Regions from separate parts of the Homo sapiens genome. Here region 2 is linked to region 1. The links are contacts of gene promoters, found by promoter capture Hi-C in human tissues and cell types (Jung and others, 2019). All regions are on one chromosome and are shown on one strand. Each heading gives the region's core, a stretch centred on a gene start or on the middle of the fragment in contact. The rest is flanking DNA. Distances are from core to core; before and after follow the strand shown.

What was found. The method cuts DNA at HindIII sites, captures the fragments that hold promoters and counts their contacts. A contact is called where the count stands out against the background at its distance.
Region 2: a fragment that was not itself captured here is called in contact with the fragment with the promoter of MELK in region 1 in 1 of the 25 tissues and cell types used here (H1 embryonic stem cells).

Annotation. Positions count from the first base shown.
Region 1 is chr9:36,569,122-36,575,068 of GRCh38, forward strand. It overlaps MELK (maternal embryonic leucine zipper kinase), which reads left to right and starts at 3,774. Exons shown (of 18, transcript NM_014791.4): 1 at 3,774-3,886. RefSeq lists an enhancer at 2,493-2,992 and a silencer at 3,576-3,855. The HindIII fragment of the contact is 26,418 bases long and covers 1-5,947 here.
Region 2 is chr9:36,192,623-36,198,569 of GRCh38, forward strand. It overlaps CLTA (clathrin light chain A), which reads left to right. Exons shown (of 5, transcript NM_001833.4): 2 at 4,929-4,966. Among named protein-coding and RNA genes, the nearest start is that of CLTA, 4.7 kb to the left of the region's middle. The HindIII fragment of the contact is 6,945 bases long and covers 383-5,947 here.

The DNA of each region.
Region 1 (5,947 bases), core at 2,524-5,023:
CAAACCAGACACAAAATTCCTTGAGCCAAAGCCTAATCCAAAGCAAGGCCACAATTCTCCTCAATTCTGTGAAGGCTAGGAGAGGTGAGGAAACTGCAGAAGAAAATTTGGAAGCTAGCAGAGGTCGGTTCATGAGATTTAAGGTAAGAAGCTGTAGGCTGGGTGCAGTGGCTCACGCCTGTACTCCCAGCACTTTGGGAGGCCGAGGCGGGCAGATCAACTGAGGTCAGGAGTTTGAGACCAGCCCAACCAACATGGAGAAACATCGTCTCTACTAAAAATACAAAATTAGCTGGGCGTGGTGGTGCATGCCTGTAATCCCAGCTACTTGGGAGGCTGAGGCAGGAGAATCACTTGAACCTGGGAGGGCGAGTTTGCGGCGAGTTTGCGGCGAGCCGAGATGGCGCCATTGCACTCCAGCCTGGGCAACAAGAGCGAAACTCCGTCTCAAAAAAAGAAAAAAAGTTGTCTCTGTAATATAAACGTGCGCAGTGAAGCAGCAAGTGCGGATGTAGAAGCTGCAGCAAGTTATACAGAAGATTTGGCTAAGATCATTGATGCAGGTGGCTCCACTGAATAACAAATTTTCAATGTAGAGGAAATAGTTCTAGGTTGGAAGAGGAGCCATCTAGAACTTTCTTAGCTAAAGAGAAGAAGTCAATGCCTAGCTTCAAATCTTCAAAGGACAGGTTGACTCTCTTGTTAGGAGCTAACGCAGCTGGTGACTTGGAGTTGAAGCCAGTGTGCATTTGCCAGTCTGAAAATCCCGGAGCCCTTATGAATTATGCTGAATCTACTCTGCCTATGCTCTATAAATGGAACAACAAAGCCTAGATGACAGTATAACTGTTTATACTAGGGTTTACTGAATATCTTTTTTGTTTGTTTGTTTGTTTTTTTGAGGCAGGGTCTCACTCTGCCACCCATGCTGGAATGCGGTGACGTAATTATAGCTTACAGTAACCTCGAACTCTTGGGCTCCAGTGATCCTCCTGCCTCAGTCTCCTGAAGAGCTGGTATTACCAGCATATGCCGCCACAGCTGGCTAAGGTTTACTGCATACCTTAAGCCCACTTTTGAGACCTACTTCTAAGAAAAAAAGATTCCTTTCAAAATATTAATGCTCATTGATAATGCCCCTAGTCACCCACGAGCTCTGATGGAGATGTACAAGGAAATGAATGTTGTTTGGATGTCTGCTAACATAACATCCATTCTGTAGGCCATAGATCAAGGAATGATTTTGACTGTCAAGTCATTTTATTTACAAAATACATTTTGTGAGGTTACAGATGCCATAGATAGTGATTTTATGCTGGATCTGGGCAAAGTAAAATGGAAGCCTTCTGGAAAGAATTAACTCTTCTAGATGTCATTAAGAACATTTATGGCCGGGCACGGTGGCTCACGCCTGTAATCCCAGCACTTTGGGAGGCCAAGGCAGGCGGATCATGAGGTCAGGAGATCAAGACCATCCTGGCTAACATGGTGAAACCCCATCTCTACTAAAAATACAAAAAAATTAGCCGGGCATGGTGGTGGGCGCCTGTAGTCCCAGCTACTCAGGAGGCTGAGGCAGGAGAATGGCGTGAACCCAGGAGGCGGAGCTTGCAGTGAGCCGAGACCACGCCACTGCACTCCAGCCTGGGTGACAGAGTGAGACTCCATCTCCAAAAAAAAAAAAAAGAACATTTATGATTAATGGGAAGAGGTCACCATATCAACATTAACAGGAGTTGGGAAGAAATTAATTCCAACCCTCATGGATGACTTTGAGGGGTTCAAGACTTCACTCGTGGAAGTAACTGCAGATTTGGTGGAAACAGCAAGAGAACTAGAATTGGAAGTGAAGCCTGAATATGTGACTGAACTGCTGCAATCTCATGATCCAACTTGAATAGATGGGGAGTTTCTTCTTACGGATGAGCAAAGAGAGAGTGCTTTCTTGAGATGGAAGCTCCTCTTGGTGAAGATGCTGTGATCATTGCTGAAATAACAACAAAAGATTTAGAATATTCCATAAACTTTGTTGATAAGGCAGTGGCAAGATTTCAGAGAACTAACTTTGAAGGAAGTCCTGCTGTGGATGAAATGGTATCACACAGCATCACATGCTACAGAGAAATCTTTCATGAAAGGAAGTGTCCATCGATGCAGCATTGTTGTTTTATTTTAGGAAATTGCCACAGCCATCCCAACGTTTAGCAACCACCACCCTGATCAATCAGCAGCATGGAGGCAAGACCCTCCACCAGCAAAAAGATTATGATTTGCTGAAGATTCAGATGACCATGTTAAATTAAGTTTAGCATAAAGCTGCCTCCTTATGCATTTTAAGTTCAGACTAACAATTTATTTCTTTCTCTCTCTCCCTTTCTCTCCCTTCCTTTCCTTTCCCTTCCCTTCCCTTCCCCTCCCTTCCCCTCCCTTCCCCTTCCCTTCCCCTTCTCTTCCTTTCTTTCTTTTCTCTCTCTCTTTCTCTCTTTCTCTTTTTTTGAGACGGAGTCTTGCTCTGTTGCCCAGCCTGGAGTGCAGTGGCACGATCTCTACTCACTGCAACCTCTGCCTCCCAGCAGAGAGAATCAAGAGATTCTCCTGCCTCTACCTCCTGAGTAGCTGGGATTATAGGCTCGCGCCACCAAGCCCGGCTAATTTTTTGTATTTTTAGTAGAGACAGGGTTTCATCATGTTGGTCAGGCTGGTCTCGAACTCCTGACCCCAAATGATCTGCCCCCGCCCCCCCACCAAAGTGCTGGGATTATAGATGTGAGCCTTTGCACCTGGCCTAACAGTTTCTCCATACATAGTGAATTGTAGACAACTACAATTGTAAATGTGTAAAGAGACTGTAACCTTGTAACAAGTAGCGAGTCTCAGTCAATCACAGCAGCGGAGTTTTGGCCAATCACAGGTGGCCAACTGTTTAAACAGTGCTCAAAATAGTCAGAGGTTGAGTTGCAACCAATCCAGCTGTTTCCATACTTGACTGCAATTTCTGTAAGTCATTTTCCTTTTTCTGTCCATAAATGTTATTTGAACATATGGCAGCCCGAATCACTCTGAACCTATTTTGGTTCCAGGGATTACTGGATTTTGGACTCATTCTTTGGTCAATTCAACTCTGTAAAGTTTAATTTGTCTAAAGATTTTCTGGGCCGGATACAGTGGCTCACGCCTGTAATCCCAGCACTTTGGGAGGCTGAGGCGGGAGGATCGCTTGAGCCCAGGAGTTCGAGACCAGCCTGGCCAACATAGCGAGATCCCGTCTCTACCCACAAATAATTTAGCCAGGCGTGGTGGCGCGTGCCTGTAGTCTCAGCTACTGGGGTTCTTATTCCTCGTGGCAACACATTTTGGAGAGGGGGAGGTATTCCTGTCTTTGCTGGGTGGGAGAACGGCCAGTGGGCAAGGGAGGACGAAAATGAGAACTGTGACTGCCAGAGGGCACGTCAATTTTAGGAAGAGAACGTAAGAAAGTTGGGTTCTGTGGAGACTTGGCATATCCACGCCACCTGGAAAATCATCACGTGCCCTCCGGGGCAAGACCAAGGCCTCAAGTCACCCCTCGCAGCCCAGTGGACCTCCCGGCCATCCCTTTCACGGCTCCACAGCGACCGCGAGCCGTTGCCCCGGTGAGAACCCCCCGGCACTGTGCGCGCCCCCGCCTGCCGTGCGCGTCCGCTTCCCTGGGATCCGGCGCCGCGCGCGCCCCCGCCGCGTCCCCGCCCCTTCCGGCCCGGGAGATTTGATTCCCTTGGCGGGCGGAAGCGGCCACAACCCGGCGATCGAAAAGATTCTTAGGAACGCCGTACCAGCCGCGTCTCTCAGGACAGCAGGCCCCTGTCCTTCTGTCGGGCGCCGCTCAGCCGTGCCCTCCGCCCCTCAGGTCAGTTCTCCCGCCTGCCCGCCGCAGTCGCAGTTGATGGCTGGGGTCTGGGCTGTGCGGGGCGCAGCGGCCCAAACCCAGTTTGCTCCTGGCTCTCGGGAGACTGGAGGATTTCATCGGAGCCCCGCGCTTTACCAGCCCTGTTCCCTGGATAAGATATTTGACCTTTCCGACCCGCGGTTTTCTTCTCCGTAAGTGGGGATAATGACCGTGTCTACTTAACAGGGTTATTGAAGAGGTGTTCAGGCTAAGCGTTTGCCACCTAGGAGGCTGCGATAGACGTGAATTCCCATTTCCCGTTTCCAGTTTCCGTGACTCTTCCCCGCGAAAAAAGTTGACAGAAGGGTTTCGAGTTTTTTCTGTTTGTACAACTCAGTTTACTGGGGCAGTGCAATAAAAAAGGAGATGTGTTATCACTACCTTTTCAGAGTCCAAATCCATCCTCTCCTATCATCTCCCCAGAGTAGTGGCTTCAGAGGCTCACACTAAAAGGGGAATTTTTTTTCTTTTTCTTCAAGACGGAGTTTCGCTCTTGTTGCCCAGGCTGGAGTGCAATGGCGCGATCTCGGCTCACCGCAACCTCCGCCTCCCAAGTTCAAGCGATTCTTCTGCCTCAGCCTCCCGAGTAGCTGAGCTTACAGACATCCGCCACCACGCCCGGCTCATTTTTTGTATTTTTAGTAGAGACGGGGTTTCACCACGTTGGCCAGGCTGGTCTCCAGCTCGTGTCCTCAGGTGATCCGCCCGCCTTGGCCTCCCAGAGTGCTGGGATTACAGGCGTGAGCCACCACGCCCGGCCTAAAAGGGGAATTTTCACCGAATGCTGTATCAGTAATAGGAGCAGCAGGATTGCTCCCACCAAGAAACCTGGTGTAGGGTTGTGGGAGCTGGAAAGGGTAGACTCAGGGAAGGCTGCCCAAGAGAGGAATCAGGTCCCTAGCACTTAGGACGGGTAATTACCTTTGGTATTTCTCCTTTGTTAGTGGAATGAGGTGAGTATCAGGAGCCTGGATTGTTGTTTAGAGGCCAGTGTTCCTAACTTTGGTTTAAATTTTGGTTTCTGTTTCCCATGGAGTCTGGCTAGAAAATCAGAAAAATCAGAAAAGCCCTTACTGGGCCTTCGTGGGCTTGTTTCTCCCAAGGGTCTGTCCTTTCTGTGTAACTACTGTGGACCAACTAGATGGGCAGATCAATCCCAATGAGTGCCTCATTGTTGGTGCTCCCAGAAGCCTTTGCAAGGGAGCAGGGCAGGATGCTAATTAAATGTGTTACAGGCCACATTATAAACCATTCTGAGCCCGGCGTGGTGGCTCACGCTTGTAATCCCAGCACTTGGGGAGGCCGAGGTGGGCGGATCACTTGAGGCCAGGAGTTCTAGACCAGCCTGGCCAACATGGCGAAACCCCGTCTCTACTAAAAATACAAAAAAAAAAAAAAAAAAAAAAATTAACCGGGCATGGTGGCGCATGCCTGTAATCCCAGCAACTGGGGAGGCTGAGGCACGAGCATCTCTGGAACCCAGGAGGCGGAGGTTGCGGTGAGCCGAGATCTAGCTACTGCACTCCAGCCTAGGTGACAGAACGAGACCCTGTCTCAAGCAAATAAACAGACAAAACCCAAAAAACCATTCTGTATTCTACTTCCTGTTTGAAATTATCCTCAGCATCAGTGTCTTTCCAAGCTCTGTAGATAAGGTAAATGTATTTATGCGGCAAGTAATAGAATAGCCCAAATAATATTGTTAAAAAATGCCCCCAATTTGTTGCTATCCTTTAAAATTTAACCATAAACGTCTTCTCATTATCCCAATTCCTTGCTCTTCTGAGAAGTTAAAGACCCCAATTATAGGCCGGGCGCGGTGGCTCACGCCTGTAATCCCAGCACTTTGGGAGGCCGAGGCAGATGGATTGTGAGGTCAGGAGTTCAAGACCAGCCTGGCCAAGATGGTGAAACCCCATCTTTACTAAAAATACAAAAAATTAGCCGGGCGTGGTGGCGCACACCTGTAATCCCAGCTACTTGGGAGGCTGAGGCAGAATTGCTTGAACTCAGAGGGCGGAG
Region 2 (5,947 bases), core at 2,605-5,104, 380 kb before region 1:
TCTAACATTTGTCTGAGAATTTTAAAATTGACTTCTTAGACCCTTAGTTTAACCTTCCTCATTTAATAGAAGAGAAGCAATCCTAGAGAGAAACGACTTGCTTAAAAAAGCACGAGTTAATAGCTGAGCCCCAAGTCTACCCACTCTTAGAATATACCACATTCTGTTGCAGTGTTTAGTTGTTTTAGCAGGGGTGTAGTGCGATAACAGACAGGCAGCTGTGGCTGTCCCAGGTGGAACAGATTTGGGAGAAGCAGAACCCAAGATCTGTAGTTGGAAGATTGTCCTGATTCAAGGACAGTGTTACCCTTACTGTTTTATCTCCACTGCCTAGCAGTGTGTCTGACATGTAGTAGATGCTCACGTTTGACAAAGAAATGGGCAAAAATGTCAGATCCAAGGGTCCTATGTAGAACTGACAGATCTTGGTGACGGGCAGTTAGGGAAGGTAAAAGGGAGAGAATAGAGTTGGATGCTCGGTCCTTTGTGCATCAAGCCTTCGGCAAAGGGAAGGAAAGAAATGGTTGCTGACTTAGTTCCTAGGAGGGACTTTCTTAGTGAACTAAGCATTTGGTGACTTAAAGCCAGATTCCTGACAGTGTAATTGAAGTTGGTAATATGCAGTGGTCAGCATTTCCTTTGGAGTTTAGAGAACTGATTGGACACTTTTTCTCTCTTAGTTTTCTTTTTCCTTCTTTTTTTTTTTTTTTAAAGATATGCTCTAGTGGTTAAGATTCTATGCTATCCTAAACTGCTTGAGTGTGAGTTTAGCTTTGTGATCTCAGACAATGTATATAACTACCACCACTGCCCGGCCTCAGTTTTCTCCTTTGTAAAAGTTGCATAATATAATTTATAATGCTATGTGGCATCTTTAGGATTACATTAAAGAGTGTCTATAAAGTGCTTACAGTTATATTAAGTATCTAGTGAATTCCAGCTACTATTAGTGGGAGAAAGGAGTTACAAGGCCTTTAGGCTTTGAAGTGTACTGAGTAAATTGAGGTTTTAGGCGGGAGCTCTCTTTCTGATGTATTATACAGAGATATATAGGCAGTCAGCTATGACAGATTGATGAGAGGAAAATAAACTGGCCCCAGCCTTGCGGAAAGCGTCTATGGAGGATGGGCACAGGCAAAAACCAGAGGGGTTAGGGCTAAGCCTTGGATGACTCCTTTGGTTGTTAAGAGATCCAGAAAAGAGACGTAGGTTTAGAGGCAGGAAGAAACCAGCTGGGTGAAGTGATATTGAGGTAACCAGCTGTGGGGGATATTGAGGAAGAACAGGTGGTCATGAAGGAGGCAGCACAAGTGGAGCTGTTGAAAAGCTCTCAATCATGAGGGCTGAGTCGGGGAAGAGAACAGGAGAGACAAGCCACAGAGAGAGTACAGCAGTAAGGCACTATTATGGTGTTTTGTTGTTTTTGAGACAGTCGCTCTGTCACCCAGGCTGGAGTGCAGTGGTGCGATCTCGGTTCACTGCAACCTCCGCCTCCTGGGTTCAAGCAGTTATCCTGCCTCAGCCTCCCGAGTAGCTGGGATTACAGGCGCCCACCACCGTGCCCAGCTAACTTTTTGTATTTTTAGTAGAGACGGGGTTTCACCATGTTGGCCAGACTGGTCTGAAACTCCTGACCTCAGGTGAGCCACCCGCCTTGGCCTCCCAAAGTGCTGGAATTACAGGTGTGAACCACCGCACCCGGTGACAAGTTATTTCTTGTAGGAGAAGAAAGAGACATGGGTGAATTAAAGGGAAGCTTTCTGGAGAAGTAATTTTATTGGTAGCAGTGGTGGAGGGAAGTTTAGGGAAATCTCATGCATGATAGTTAATTGTACTGCACATTTGCTGTATACCAGGTACACTTTCAGATCCCAGCAGTAGCTCCACAGGTTAAGTGGTAGTGTCATATTTCAGATGAGAATGGATCGGTGTGGAAGTTGAGCAGTGTCACTAAGGTAGCAAGGTAATAAATGGCTCAAGTGCAGCTTCAAACGTAGGTCTGCTTGACTTCAAATGTTTCTGGAATGTGGAAAGTTGAAAGTGGGTTTGGGACAGTCTTTCACTTTTGAAAACTGGCCCTTTTTCTGTCTGGAGTTCCTGAAAGGCCCTAGAAAGTTTCCTTCTGAAGCATCGTGTTGCTTAGTTTAGTTGTTGTAGTAAGTCAAGGCCCTACATGTCCTTTCTGCATGTTTCCACAGCAACAGACGATCCCTTGGCTTGAGCCAGTTGATTCTTGTAAGAATGTTAGTGCAGTAATACAGTAACTAATAAAGAGGAAAGCAGATGCCAGTGGGTCTGGAGGAGCCTTCAGACAGCATGTGATTTTTAAGGAGATGTGGGATGAGGATTGCTTCTTGTTTTGTATATGGAGTAGTGATCAAAGTCTCTCATATTCCAGCCCAGGGCTGGACTATATTAGTGGATAGTTGGTATGTCAATTGTACTATATTAACCATAATGTAGGCCTGGCCAGACTAGCCACTGTAGGATCTAGGATTTAAAACTATCTCACTCTTCTGTCTTACACAAAAATAAATTCCAGGTGGATTAAAGAGAGACATTTAAAAAGTAAAAGAAGAAAAGTGAGTATTTGTCTATCTCATAATAGGAAAGGCCTTCAGCATAAAAGCAGATACAGAAATCATGAAGAAAAAGTCGATCATGTCTACATACACAAATTAAGTTGTTCCAAGTGTTAAATACCATAAACCAAATCAAAAGAGAAACTAGGGAAAATATTTGACTATTAGAGAGCAAATACTTAGAGATCAAAAAATAGCAGGAAAATAGGCAAACTCAGAAAATTCAGTAAAGAAGAAAATCAGGTGTCGGGTATGTGATTACCTCACTGGAAATAAGATTGGCACAACAAAGCCACCATGAGTTTGTTTTTTTTTTCCATTATCAAATTAGCAAAAATTTTAAAACATGATCAAGCACAGTCCCTAGTATCAGGGAAGGTCTAAGAAATGGGGCACTTGTGCTGCTAGTAGTAATATAAACTGGTAGACTAATAGGAACAAGTGGGTAGAATTTTAGAAGTCTTTGAAATACATATCCTGGGCCAGGTGCGGTGGCTCACGCCTGAAATCCCAGCACTTTCGGAGGCTGAAGTGGGCGGATCACCTGAGGTCAGGAGTTTGAGACCAGCCTGACCAACATAGTGAAACCTCGTCTCTACTAAAAAATACAAAAATTAGCCGGGCATGGTGGCACGTGCCTGTAATCCCAGCTATTCGGGAGGCTGAGGCAGGAGAATCACTTGAACCTGGGAGGCGGAGGTTGCAGCAAGCCGAGATCGCGCCAGTGTACTCTAGCCTGGCCAACAGCGTGAGACTCCGTCTCAAAAAAAATAAAAAAATACATATCCTGGCTGGGCGCAGTGGCTCATGCCTGTAATCCCAGCACTTTGGGAGGCTGAGGTGGGTGGATCGTCTGAGGTCAGGAGTTCGAGACCATCCTGGCCAACGTGGTGAAACCCCCGTCTCTACTAAAACTACAAAAAAAATTAGGTGGGCATGATAGCTCACGCCTGTAGTCCCAGCTACTCAGGAGGCTGAGGCAAGAGAATCACTTGAACAACCCAGGAGGTGGAGGTTGCAGTGAGCCAAGATTGCACCACTGTACTCTAGCCTGGGCAACAGAGCAAGACTCTCTCTCAAAAAAAAATAAAATACATATCCTGTGATCCAGCAATTCCTTTTTTTTCTTTCTTTTTTCTTTTTTTTTTTTTTTATTTTTTGAGATGGAGTCTCGCTCCGTCACCCAGGCTGGAGTGCAGTGGCGCGATCTTGGCTCACTGCAACCTCTGCCTCCCGAGTTCAAGCAATTCTCCTCTTTCAGCCTCCTGAGTAGCTGGGATTACAGGCTCATGCCACCACCCTGGCTAATTTTTGTATTTTTAGTATATGGAGGTGGGTTTCACCATGTTGGCCAGGCAGGTCTTGAACTCCTGACCTCGAGTGATCCTCCCACCTTGGCCTCTCAAAGTGCTGGGATTATAGGTGTGAGCCACCGCGCCCAGCTGTAACCCAGCAATTCTACACCAAGAAATTTATTACAGAGGCGAAATTGAATATGCTTCCCCCATGCTTTCACTAGTTTGATAAACTTCATATTTCCAAAACTTTATAGAGTGCTTAAAAAACTACATAGGTAGGTGGCACATGCCTTAAAGTGGTAAAAGGCCACTGACAAACTATAAGAAACTCATTTTTGTACTGACATATAGGAGTAAAAGTCAACTAGGAAAATTAAGAAAAATATGAGAGGCCAGGCATGGTGGCTCATGCCTGTAATCCAATACTTTGGGAGACCGAGGCGGGTGGATCGCTTGAGTCCAGGAAATCGATAGCAGCCTGGGCAGCATGGCGAAACCCCCTTCCTACAAAAAAATAGAAAAATTATCCAGGCGTGGTGGCGCATGCCTGCAATCCCAGCTCCTGTGGGGACTGAGGTGGGAGGTTCGCTTGAGCCCAAAAGGTCGAGGCTACAGTAAGCCATGATTGGGCCACTTTGCTCCAGCCTGGGCGACAGAGCAAGACTGTCTCAAAGATGAAGCTGCAGGTCTCTGCTCACTATGGGTGATTCCAGGCCACACTTTTTTTTTTCCCTCATGCAGAATTTTCATAGAGAAACACTGTTCTCTTTCTGCTAGTCTTCCATTTGTTACCACTGTAAAATAGAAAACAGAAAATAAAATCAAAAGCTTTTGGACTTGGGAGCTTAAGGACAGATGTGTACACATTTTGGTGAAATTTGTATATAAGCACATCTTGGTTTTATTTGTTGTATATAGCACCTACCACAGGGATAGCATTTAGTAGCTCAAGGTTCATACAGCATATGATGCTGTATTCTACTGTACAACCCTTTGGCCCAGTGTTTGACCAGTCCTTATTGATAGACCAAAATCTTATGTCTTGCAGATGCTGTTGATGGAGTAATGAATGGTGAATACTACCAGGTACAGAGTACTCTGATTCTGTTCATTGATAGTGATTGAGAATCTTCCTTTCCTGTGATTTTAATTGACTGACCTAGAAAGAAACCCCAGTCCTTTGACTTTCCTGAATGTATTACTGGCTGGTGTGTTATCTACCAAAGTGGAAAGATTTAAAGAGAGGTAGCATTGATAAAAAGAGAACTGTTTAAAAATGTTATTTACCTGCCCCTAGTGTTATCACCTTTATTCTAAAGAAATCACCATTCAAATGATACTGTGTTGAGTGCAGTAAGTTAATACTAATACTTTAAATAATTCTCCTTCCATCTTTGTTTATAGTCTGATTAGGTTAACCTGGTAATATTAATATTCCTTAGTTCAGTGAGTGGCATATGGAATAATTTTGTAAAGATTAACATTTATTTGAGTCTTTTTTTTTTTTTTTTTTTTTGAGACAGTCTCACTGTCGCCCAGGCTAGAGTGCAGTGGCACGATCTTGTCTCATTGCAACCTCCACCTTCTGGGTTCAAGCGATTCATCCACTTCAGCCTCCTGAGTAGCTGGAATTACAGGCGCATGCCACCACGCCCGGCTAATTTTTTGTATTTTTAGTAGAGATGGGGTTTCGCCATGTTGGCCAGGCAGGTCTTGAACTCCTGGGCTCAAGTGACCATCCCGCCTTGGCCTCCCAAAGTGCTGGGATTACAGGCGTGAGCCACCGCACCCCGCCAGAGCCACCGCAACCTTGGCTCACTGCAGAACCCGTTTCTAACAACAATGGCGGCTTTTGTAAAATGTTAAAGGATTACCTTAAAAGCAACAACACAGGCCGGGCACGGTGGCTCACGCCTGTAATTCCAGCACTTTGGGAGGCTGGGGTGGGTGGATCATTTGAGGTCAAGAGTTCGAGACCAGCCTGGCCAACACAGTGAAACCCGTCTCTGCTAAAAATACAAAAATTAACCAGGCGGTAGTGGCATGTGCCTGTAATCCCAGCTACTG